Linked DNA regions of Homo sapiens: region 1 is linked to region 2. Evidence: promoter capture Hi-C in human tissues and cell types (Jung and others, 2019). All regions are on one chromosome and are shown on one strand. The core of a region is centred on a gene start or on the middle of the fragment in contact, and the rest is flanking DNA. Distances in the headings are between cores, read along the strand shown.

Region 1 (5,009 bases), core at 759-3,258, 78 kb after region 2:
CCGGCTAATTTTTTGTATTTTTAGTAGAGACGAGGTTTCACCATGTTAGCCAGGATGGTCTCGATCTCCTGACCTCGTGATCCGCCCACCTCGGCCTCCCAAAGTGCTGGGACTACAGGCGTGAGCCACCGCGCCCAGCCTGCTCAACACTTTTACACATGCCGTTCTGAAAGCCTGGGAATTCTTCGTCTCAACTTACATAAAACACAGAAATCTTTCAAGCACTGCTTTTTCTAGAAAGCCTTCTCCAAATACTACAAACCTACTGAATGCTCTCTTTCTGGTAATTCCTTTTTAGTGTGTTTTGGTTTTTCAAAATCATTTTATCTTATTTCTAGTTGACAAATAATATGGTATATATTTGTGGGGTAAAATGTGATGTTGTTATACATGTATGCATTGTGGAATGACCAAATCAAGCTAATTATCATATCCATCACCTCAAATATTTATCATTTCTTTGTGCTGTGAACATTTAAAATTCTCTCTTTTAGTTTTTTTGAAATATACTATACATTAACTATAATTCTTATTTCTCTAAGAGGTTTGATCATACATTTTAGATATTTTCATCACTCGCCTGAGGACACTGTCATTACTGTAAATTTCAGAATCTAAAGCTATAGTTTCATTATTTGGCCAAATCGTGTAATCTATAATTTCTTGTTTTTCATCTAGTTTTCTGTTAATTTTAGTTAAATCACACCCCCACCCCCCCTTTTTTTTTCACTAAGACTTCTTCCGGTGATCCTTGAGGTGGCACTTTATCAGGGTGAATGTGTGAGTCTGGATACGTTGAGGTTCCTCTCCATCCTCTCTTTTGTCAACACTTACTGTCAGCCACCCAGCACCCTTTCTTTTCCTCTGAAGAAGTTACCCTGCAACTGGCTCTCTCTCATTGATTGAGCCCTCTGCAGCCACAACCCTAATCTCTGTTTTTCCCTAGACCCCCGTCTTCAACTCAACCATACCCATCTATCTACCTTTCTGCAATTCTCTACTCTATGAAAAAAGAAATGTGATGTTTGCAATAAAGTTATATTTTTCCCTCCGAAACAAAACAGTAACATTCAATTAGGTATCTCCTAAGAAGTATGTCTTAACAAAATAGAGAGATTCTGTTCTGGAGAACTAGTCTTCCAGCAGACTGAAGAGAGAACTGTGTTGGAACGTGGCAGCACATTATATCAGGTGGGGGCAGCCTCCTGTCTTCCTAAGCCTGGTGGGAGGTCTGTGTTCTAACCATCTCTTCCAAATATGATGCCGGGTATCATATTGTAAGGGTTTCTTTAATGGTTAGATGCTGAAGCCATTTATTTGTCACTTCCTATGTGTTACTTTGTATTATAATGATCTCTTTCTTCATATTTTCTGGCTTCCCAAATTGTCTGTAAGCTTCTCTGCTTTCCACACTTATGACCAATGTAATATTGCTGTTCCACAGCCCCAGTGTATTTTTCTCTGGTGCCAACCATAGAGGAAAAATAATGCACTACCTCTTTAGCACAATTTAAACATGCCATAAAGAATGAAATATGATTGGCAAACTCAGGGTAAAGTGTTTATTCTTAGTTTGGTTATCTATGGCTAGAACGATCAGAGGAGTGGTCACATGATATAAACATAGCTGCCAGCAAAGGGCCCTAGAGAAGAAAGATTGTACACTAAGGCAAATTCAAAAACAAACCAAAGTGCCCACTACAGCAGTTGAAATCTGACATTTTTTAATCAATTTAAATGAGCCATTCATAGTTTCATATTATATAAATACTCATCAGTTTTCTGTACAATAAAATTATTTTAATTCGATCAATACACAAATGAATGTAGCTTTTTTTTGTTTAAGCTCTCATCTCGTTCTGTACTTTTAATTCATCACGTCAACTTTGCAGAATATCACCTCCACTTCCATCATTTTCCTGCTCACTGGTGTTCCTGGGCTGGAAGCCTTCCACACCTGGATCTCCATTCCCTTCTGCTTCCTCTCTGTAACTGCTCTCTTGGGAAACAGCCTGATCCTCTTCGCTACCATCACTCAGCCCAGCCTCCACGAACCAATGTACTATTTCCTCTCCATGCTGTCCGCCACTGACCTCGGCCTGTCCATATCCACTCTGGTCACCATGCTGAGTATATTCTGGTTCAATGTGAGGGAAATCAGCTTTAATGCCTGCTTGTCCCACATGTTCTTTATTAAATTCTTCACTGTCATGGAATCCTCAGTGCTGTTGGCCATGGCTTTTGATCGTTTTGTGGCCGTCTCTAATCCCCTTAGGTATGCCATGATTTTAACTGACTCCAGAATAGCTCAAATTGGAGTGGCAAGTGTCATCAGGGGGCTCCTAATGCTGACACCAATGGTAGCACTTCTTATAAGACTTTCCTACTGCCACAGCCAAGTACTCCACCACTCCTACTGCTACCACCCTGATGTGATGAAGCTCTCATGCACAGACACCAGAATCAACAGTGCAGTTGGGCTGACTGCCATGTTCTCTACTGTTGGTGTAGACTTACTTCTCATCCTCCTTTCTTATGTTTTGATCATTAGGACTGTCCTTAGCGTTGCTTCCCCAGAAGAGAGGAAGGAAACCTTCAGTACATGTGTCTCCCACATTGTGGCTTTTGCTATATATTACATTCCATTGATCAGTCTGTCCATTGTTCACAGATTTGGGAAACAAGCCCCAGCCTATGTACATACTATGATTGCTAACACCTACCTGCTGATCTCCCCTTTGATGAACCCTGTCATCTACAGTGTGAAAACCAAACAGATACGTAGAGCTGTGATAAAAATTCTCCATTCCAAAGAAACATAAAATTGTAGAATTCTAGCACTAGATGGACCCCTCAAGATGGTATACTTCAGGTCATGTTTCCAATTAAAAACAAAAAACAACCAAAGAACTGGTGCCCATTGAAGCTAAGCACATAATCATTTAAAGTTAAAGCTGGAATGTATCTAGAACATCAGCTAGTTTGACTACTTTATTTTCCAGATGAGGAGGTGAAGACATGGGATGGAAGAGATGAACAGCCTAAAATTAGCCTTATATATAAAATTTCTCCTTCTCACACCACTGTTGGGTCCAAACTGTTGTTGCCTTCTGTCCCTGCCAACACCCTTTCTGTTATTATCTCATCTACTTCATAGCCTTTAGAATGACACATTACAGAAAAGTCACTCCTTTGTGAGAAATAGGTAGTATTTTCCAACTGTTCTAGTAATTTCGATTGCCATTTATTATTTGCTCTGACAAGTCATGGTTCTAAGTGTTTTTTGTATGTATTAACATATTTTATATCTAAAACAATGTTATAAGATAATCACTTTAATTATCAATAAGAAAATTGAGGCATGAAATGTTAAGTAGCTTGCTTAAACAGCTAGTAACTGGTGTTGCTGATGGCAGAGCACATCCATGCAGACTGACTCCAGAGTCCCCCACACTCTTAATTTTAATGTTATATTGCTACCTATAATATAATATATAGGTATATAATTTATATATAATTTATATTTGTAAAAATTATATGAACTTATATATATAAACTTATATTTATAAATTATGTACTTATATGTGTAAATTATATTTATATTTATAAATATAAATATAGAGAGAAGTTCAGGCAATTTTTACTAGGAAACATAAAGAAGTAAAAAAATTAATTAAAAAAAACCACAACTCTATCCTCTAGAAATTTTCAGTCAAATTAGGGAGAAAAAGCCCAAATCAAATCTTCATACCTTACAGATATATTTCTACCTGATGATCTTTCCTGACTCAAGCATATTTCAGCATTTCTGTCAACCCTCCATCAACATTCTGCCCCAGCAGAAATGGAAAGTGACTACAAATGAATTATGGTCATTTACTTATGAATTTTTAAATTTGTGTCATAATGGTCATGTAATGGCTCAATTCAGAAAGATAATTCATTCCACCCTGGGTGTGTCCATTAATTCTCAAAATTTTTAAAGCATATATTTCAATGCCACACTAATATCACTAATTTAAGATGGGCTGTATAGTTGGTATCAGGTCCAGAAAGGAAGTAGAAGTAATCATTCGTATCTACAGGCTTGCCCCCTCGCTTTATGGAGATCTCTGCCAACTGCACCTTATTACAGGGCCCTTGATGTTATAATAATTATAATAGCAATACCTCTCCCTCAGTTTCTTCCTGTATTCACTCTCATCCTTACCTGCCTTATTTTTAATTTTTAGCATTTTTATTCCCCAACATATTACATATAGGCTGTTTCTTTTCTGGTTTCCTCATCATTCCCTGTAGGAAATTTATTAAGTGACTATAGTATTTATAGTACTGTAAGAATTATGTCAAATCCTCAGCCTGTTTGACAACAACATTTCAGTTTCAATTATTGTTACTCTTCATCTTTATATGTTGCAATGTCCTGGGACTTTGTTCTCAGACCTTTTTGCTTTGTCATAATCCCTTCCTTGGTCATCCCATCCAGTATCATGTCTTTAAGTACCATCTCTATGCTGACAAAATCCAAATTAATATTTGTAGTTCAGACTTATCCCACTGCCTGTGTATCAATATCACTACTTGAATGTTTCATAATCATCTTAGAATCAACGTCTAATATATACTAATATCCCCATCAAGGAAAAAGCATGCTCACCCACAGTCTTCTCTAACTCAGTAACTCTACCTTCCAATGTGTTGAGACAAAGCACTTGGAGTTATCCCTGATGCCTTTCTATCACCCCGATGCTACATCTAACCTTTTAGTAAATCCTGGTGACCCTTTCTTCTAGATCTCTCTGATATTGATGTCTAAAATCAAGTCAATTTATACCATCTCTACTGCTACCACTGTGATGCAAGCCATCATCTTGGACCTGAATTATTATAACAGCTTTCTGGTGGTCCTTCCTTCATCCACGTTTGCTTTACAGTCTATTTCCCCCCACAGTGAAGTTAGACTGATTAGTTTAATGCACAAGGCAGATCAAGTTCAATATACCCCAAGG
Region 2 (5,696 bases), core at 171-2,670:
ACTCTCCACAAACTTACATATTTGACACTTACTAGTGTCAGTGCAAATGATGGTCCTCATTTTTTTGAAGGTTACTCATGCTCTACACTTAATCACCCACTACTTTCTTAAGGACTTTTATAGATCAATAAATCCTTCACATTCTATATTTTAAATTTCTCATTATCTGCTACATTTTTAACCTCCGTTTATAAACATATCAATTTCTCGAATTCTGTCCCATCTTGCAAAAATTCTCCATCTACCTGATACCCCTTCTTTAGACATGGCCTACTTCTCCCCTTGCCTTCACTGCCAAGTTTCTTAAAATAAACCGTACCTCCACTGCTAATACTTTCATCATTACCACACTGTAGCAGGTTCTCAATTTTCCACTGTTTTTTCTGGGATCGCTAATGGCTCTCAGCTGCATTTGAATTTTTTAATCCTTACTAGGCTTCACAGCGCAAGCAATTCGACACAGCTGCTCATGTAACATCCGGTCTTCACACCATGTTTTTTTTTTTTCTTCTTTTTTAGACGGAGTCTCTCACTGTCACCAGGCTGGAGTGCGGTGGTGCAATCTTGGCTCACTGCAACCTCTGCCTCCTGGGTTCAAGCGATTCTCCTGCCTCAGCCTCCCAAGTAGCTGGGACTACAGATACACGCCACCATGCCCAGCTAATTTTTGTATTTTTAGTAGAGACGGGGTTTCACCATGTTGGCCAGGATGATCTTGATCTCTTGACCTCGTGATCCGCCCACCTCTGCCTCCAAAGTGCTGGGATTACAGGCATGAGCCACCTGCCCAGCCTCTTTTGGTTTTCATAGTCCCCATAAAACCAGTCTCATCTTGCTTTAGTGTATATAGTGCATTCCAGTCTTCTGGAGAGTTCTGTCCTCATTGTTTTTCTCTTATAATTCTAGTCTCTGAAGTTGTTTACCTATAGTGTTGGATGAAAATGATAAATATACATTGATAACTTTATATTCCTGGCAAATATCTGGAGATCTGTGTCTGCAGACTCATACCCTTATGGTCACTGAAGAACCATGGATATTTTTAAGTGGCTATTATTCATTGTACTCACAAAATATTCAAAATTGAGGATACTTATTTTTTCTCAGCTAAGTCTTTATTCAAATAATCTTACAATATGATGCATCTTAATATATTCTGTAAATGGACACTATCATGAAAATGTATAAAATCATATGGACATATTTCCCTTGAATTTTATGGTACAAAAACATATTTTTGTGAACTATTTCTGATTATGAGTGGTAGATGAACATTATAATTTAATTTAAAGGTTTCTCAATGATGCAGATCTTATCTATGACCTTGGATAACTCTACTAACTAAAAGAAAATGTATCTAAATATTTTACATAACACTTAATGTATCACTTCTATAGGATGGAAGCATTGTGAGGACAAATGCTGCAAAACCAGGACACCATGGAAATCCTAAGCAACTCAACATCTAAATTTCCAACCTTCTTGTTGACCGGCATTCCTGGCCTAGAGTCTGCCCATGTCTGGATCTCCATTCCTTTCTGTTGTTTTTATGCCATTGCCCTCTCTGGGAACAGCGTGATCCTGTTTGTCATCATTACCCAGCAGAGTCTCCATGAACCCATGTATTATTTCCTCTTCAGGCTATCAGCCACTGATCTGGGCTTGACTGTTTCTTCATTGTCAACAACATTAGGTATCCTCTGGTTTGAGGCACGTGAAATCAGTCTATATAGCTGCATTGTCCAGATGTTTTTTCTTCATGGATTCACTTTTATGGAATCTGGAGTGCTGGTGGCTACAGCCTTTGACCGTTATGTGGCCATCTGTGACCCTCTGAGGTACACTACCATTCTCACTAATTCCAGAATCATTCAAATGGGTCTTCTGATGATTACACGTGCTATAGTACTAATATTGCCACTACTTTTGCTCCTTAAGCCTCTCTATTTCTGTAGAATGAATGCCCTTTCTCACTCCTATTGTTACCATCCAGATGTGATTCAATTAGCATGTTCAGACATTCGGGCAAATAGCATCTGTGGATTAATTGATCTCATCCTGACCACTGGAATAGATACACCATGCATTGTCCTGTCATATATCTTAATTATTCACTCTGTCCTCAGAATTGCCTCCCCTGAAGAATGGCACAAGGTCTTCAGCACCTGTGTCTCCCATGTGGGAGCAGTTGCTTTCTTCTACATCCACATGCTGAGCCTGTCCTTGGTGTATCGCTATGGTCGGTCAGCCCCCAGAGTAGTCCATTCAGTGATGGCTAATGTATACCTGCTTTTACCCCCTGTGCTCAACCCCATCATCGACAGTGTAAAAACAAAACAAATCCGCAAGGCTATGCTCAGTCTGCTGCTTACAAAATGAACAGACATAGTTTTATTTGATACAAACCTGGCATGAATGACTTGCACTGTAGAAAAGCGAACTTGCTCTCTTACTGCCTATTGCATGTGGGTTTTTAAAATATTTTTCATTCACCAAACAAATAGTAAATATGTTGTATATTTGGTCATAAAATATAAGTATGATATATCACCCAAGACATTTGTAGTGGAATTAGGAAAATAACAATAATGAAATGATAAATAATACTCCTGGCAATTAACATGTATTGACTCTTTGTTTCAGGCTAGGTGTTCTACTAACTGCTTTTAAGACATATTCCATTTATTCTTCCAAAACAGCGAAATGAAATATATATTACTATTAGCGATATATTACAGATGATGGAACAGATTTATAGACATTTAGGCCCCCAAAGGCCATGTGAATAACATGAGGCACAGTTGAGATTTGAACCCAGGTGTTCTGTATCTCAAATGCTATGCTCTTCATCACTGTATTACATACTCTGCCAAAGTCATGTAGCAGAAATGTTTTAAGATCAAAAGTAAGACCTGGATCTCCATGGTTCCATCCTTTGTCTTAAAAAGTTGTAGTAACCTTCTTAGAATATACTCTAGCTGTTTTCTTCATGGATAATTCATAATACAAAAGGTAGGAATAGATATGTCATGGCATGTGAGTCACTATCCAGTGTTGGACAGTCCAAAGAAAAGCTTTAGGGGTGAGGCACACTTGCTAATTTATCACAGGGAATGGGAACTTGAGAGAACTAGAAAAGAATGTAAAGTAAATTACAAGGAAGTTTGGGGCAGATGTTCTGAACCTTTTTCTGCATTGTGGTCCCTTAGAAAGCTAATGAAATTTATGGACCTTTCCCCATAGATAAACATACTCACATTATTTTCCATAGTTTTCACAGTTTTCACAAATGCCATTAAAGACCTATGTGACTCCTTAACCAGCTAAAGAACCAAGGTAAAGAATTCATAGTTCTTGCCTATACACAGTTTTACAGAGACAGACACAAAATGTTTGGTTTCTGAAAACGAACTTATGGTAACTCTTTGGATTTAAGAGACAGACAGAAGCTTAAAAATGTCAATTGCATATAATGGCAGAATAAAATCAGAGGGAAATGGAGATGGAAACCTAAAGGCAGTCACATCAATTTTATTGCCATTGGAAAAATAGTGATAGGTGGAAGAAATGTACCAGGTACCCCACAAATACTGAGGGCAGCAGTGTGCTGGAGAGAGCACACACCAGCTTGCAAGAGCCTATTTTTGCATATCTAACTATGCATTATATGATGTCATATTAGTAGCTTGAAATCACTGATAATGATAATTTTTATACCATGTGAACTGGTAAAAATTCTTTTAAATATTTATATAATAGCATTGTTCAATTTAATTTAATAGCATTGAGAACTTTTTCTGTTTTTAAATATTCAGTTTATCAGCACACAGTGACTGTAGGTATATTTTATGTTTGACCTCGTGGGAAACAACAAAAAATAAAAGATCAATAAAAAATATTACTGTGCACTCACGAAGGTTAAAATCTTGTGTGTGTAAAACATCAACATGAACAAAAAGTCATGAAATAATGGACTTATTGGGGTGATAATTCATAATATAAAAGTAAAATTTTACCCTTTATGTTGACTTCTGAGTTGAAAGAGTATCCAAAAGTGCATGCTGGATAGGACGATTTTGTAAGAAACTCTGTGGAAAAATGGAAGAAATATTATATGACAATTTTACTATTCATGGAAGAATTATCTTCTGAGTTTTAAGGTCTGTCTGTACATAGGCATGAAAATTATGAAACACAAACCCTTTTTTCTTCTATTTTCTCTCTTCTTCAGCTTTCCCCAGGTGAACATAGATTATAAAATTTGTGTTAGTAGCTTTAAAAACACCTTTTGATAAAACAATGCCATTATGTAAATGAATTTGTTTATCGATTTAGTTTACAAATTTGGCTACACTTTCTGACTTTTATATGTGAGAGTCTTTTTCTTGAGTAATTCTACATGCCTGCTAGCTGCTGGAACATCAGAAAGATAGATGTGGTAAAATAATGTAATATATACTAACATTATCACAATAAGCACTCATCGCAATATTCCGAACCGATAGCACAGCCACCAGCAGAAAATTTTTAAATTGTCAGAGTCACTGCAAAAAATGAATGTCATAGAGAAAGAGAGAGAGAAACCGTGGGAGGAAAGAAAAAAGGGAGAGAGAAAAAGGATGAAAAAAGGAAGGAAGGAAGGGAGGGAGGGAGGGAGGGAGGGAAAGGAAAGTGGGAGAGAAATTAAGGATGTAACTTAAATAAGTTTCCAAACAGCCCATTTGTTACACCAAGCAAGGATACCCATTTACTGATGTGAGTTAATTAAATCACTTTTTATTGTAGCAACAGAAAATCTATAGCCAGAAAGAATGAACTTATTTAAGACTATTTCTATCTAATTGTTAGAGTCAAAGAACTCCTCAAATACTGTACTCAACCCAAGCAGGTCTGTGATGTTACATCTGTATCCGGGGAAAAATGTAGTACCATGAAACACCGAGTAGAAGCACCTGGGTGAGTGACCCATGAAGACACTGATTATGCAAAAGTCCTTATAATCCTTGGGCTTGCAGAGGTGGCCCACACTTCTCTGGTAAGAACAATCATTTCCACCACTTCGCATAATTCTATCTCCTGGAGCTCTCTCCATCTCTTGTTCTCACCACCAGAATGAACACTGGCATTAAATTCCAGCATAAATCTGTTGGGAATGTGCTGGGCCTAGTAAGATAAGAAAGAGACTATAACCCGAAGAATAGCAAAAATTAGCAAGCATTTTATGGCAAAAATCCATGAAATGCCCTCTGGATTGAATAGTGAGAATGGTTGATCAAGGAGGTCTGAATAGAAGACTATATTAGCAAGAATGCATCAATGTAGGGACATTTATTTGGAATACGAATTTTAACACCTTAACAAGAACACCAAGGAATGTAGCTAATTTACTACTGAGTGACAATTAGCTAGAAAAAGTGTTGGACAACATTCAGCATATTGGAAAAATGATTGTGCTGCCCTAGTAGATGGAAAAGGAAAGAATTTAGAGGCTGATGAAAGTATGCATGCTGGAATAGACTGTGTAAAGATGGAAGACTCACCATACATTTTCCATAAAAGTGCACAGAGGACACATCGTTCAGAAGCCACTGGAAATTAGCTGTGAAAATGATACCAGCATCTCTAAGAAGCTGAGTGGTAGCTCTTTTCCACTAATCACAGAGGCCAGCAGTAGCTGCAGTCAGCAAGCCAGGCTA

Evidence for each region. Contacts are between HindIII fragments. The study calls those that stand out against the background at their distance.
Region 1: a contact is called between a fragment that was not itself captured here and the fragment with the promoter of OR51F1 in region 2, in 2 of the 25 tissues and cell types used here (H1 embryonic stem cells and pancreas).

Annotation. Positions count from the first base shown.
Region 1 is chr11:4,688,571-4,693,579 of GRCh38, reverse strand. All of the region lies in intron 1 of OR51E2 (olfactory receptor family 51 subfamily E member 2), which reads left to right. OR51C1 (olfactory receptor family 51 subfamily C member 1) reads left to right here. Exons shown (of 2, transcript NM_001396051.1): 2 at 1,893-3,157. The coding sequence ends at 2,822. Among named protein-coding and RNA genes, the nearest start is that of OR51C1, 6.8 kb to the left of the region's middle. The HindIII fragment of the contact is 8,862 bases long and covers 1-5,009 here.
Region 2 is chr11:4,765,662-4,771,357 of GRCh38, reverse strand. OR51F1 (olfactory receptor family 51 subfamily F member 1) reads left to right here and starts at 1,420. Exons shown (of 1, transcript NM_001004752.2): 1 at 1,420-2,379. The coding sequence starts at 1,420. The coding sequence ends at 2,379. MMP26 (matrix metallopeptidase 26) reads right to left here. Exons shown (of 8, transcript NM_021801.5): 2 at 4,017-4,088. The HindIII fragment of the contact is 7,923 bases long and covers 1-3,262 here.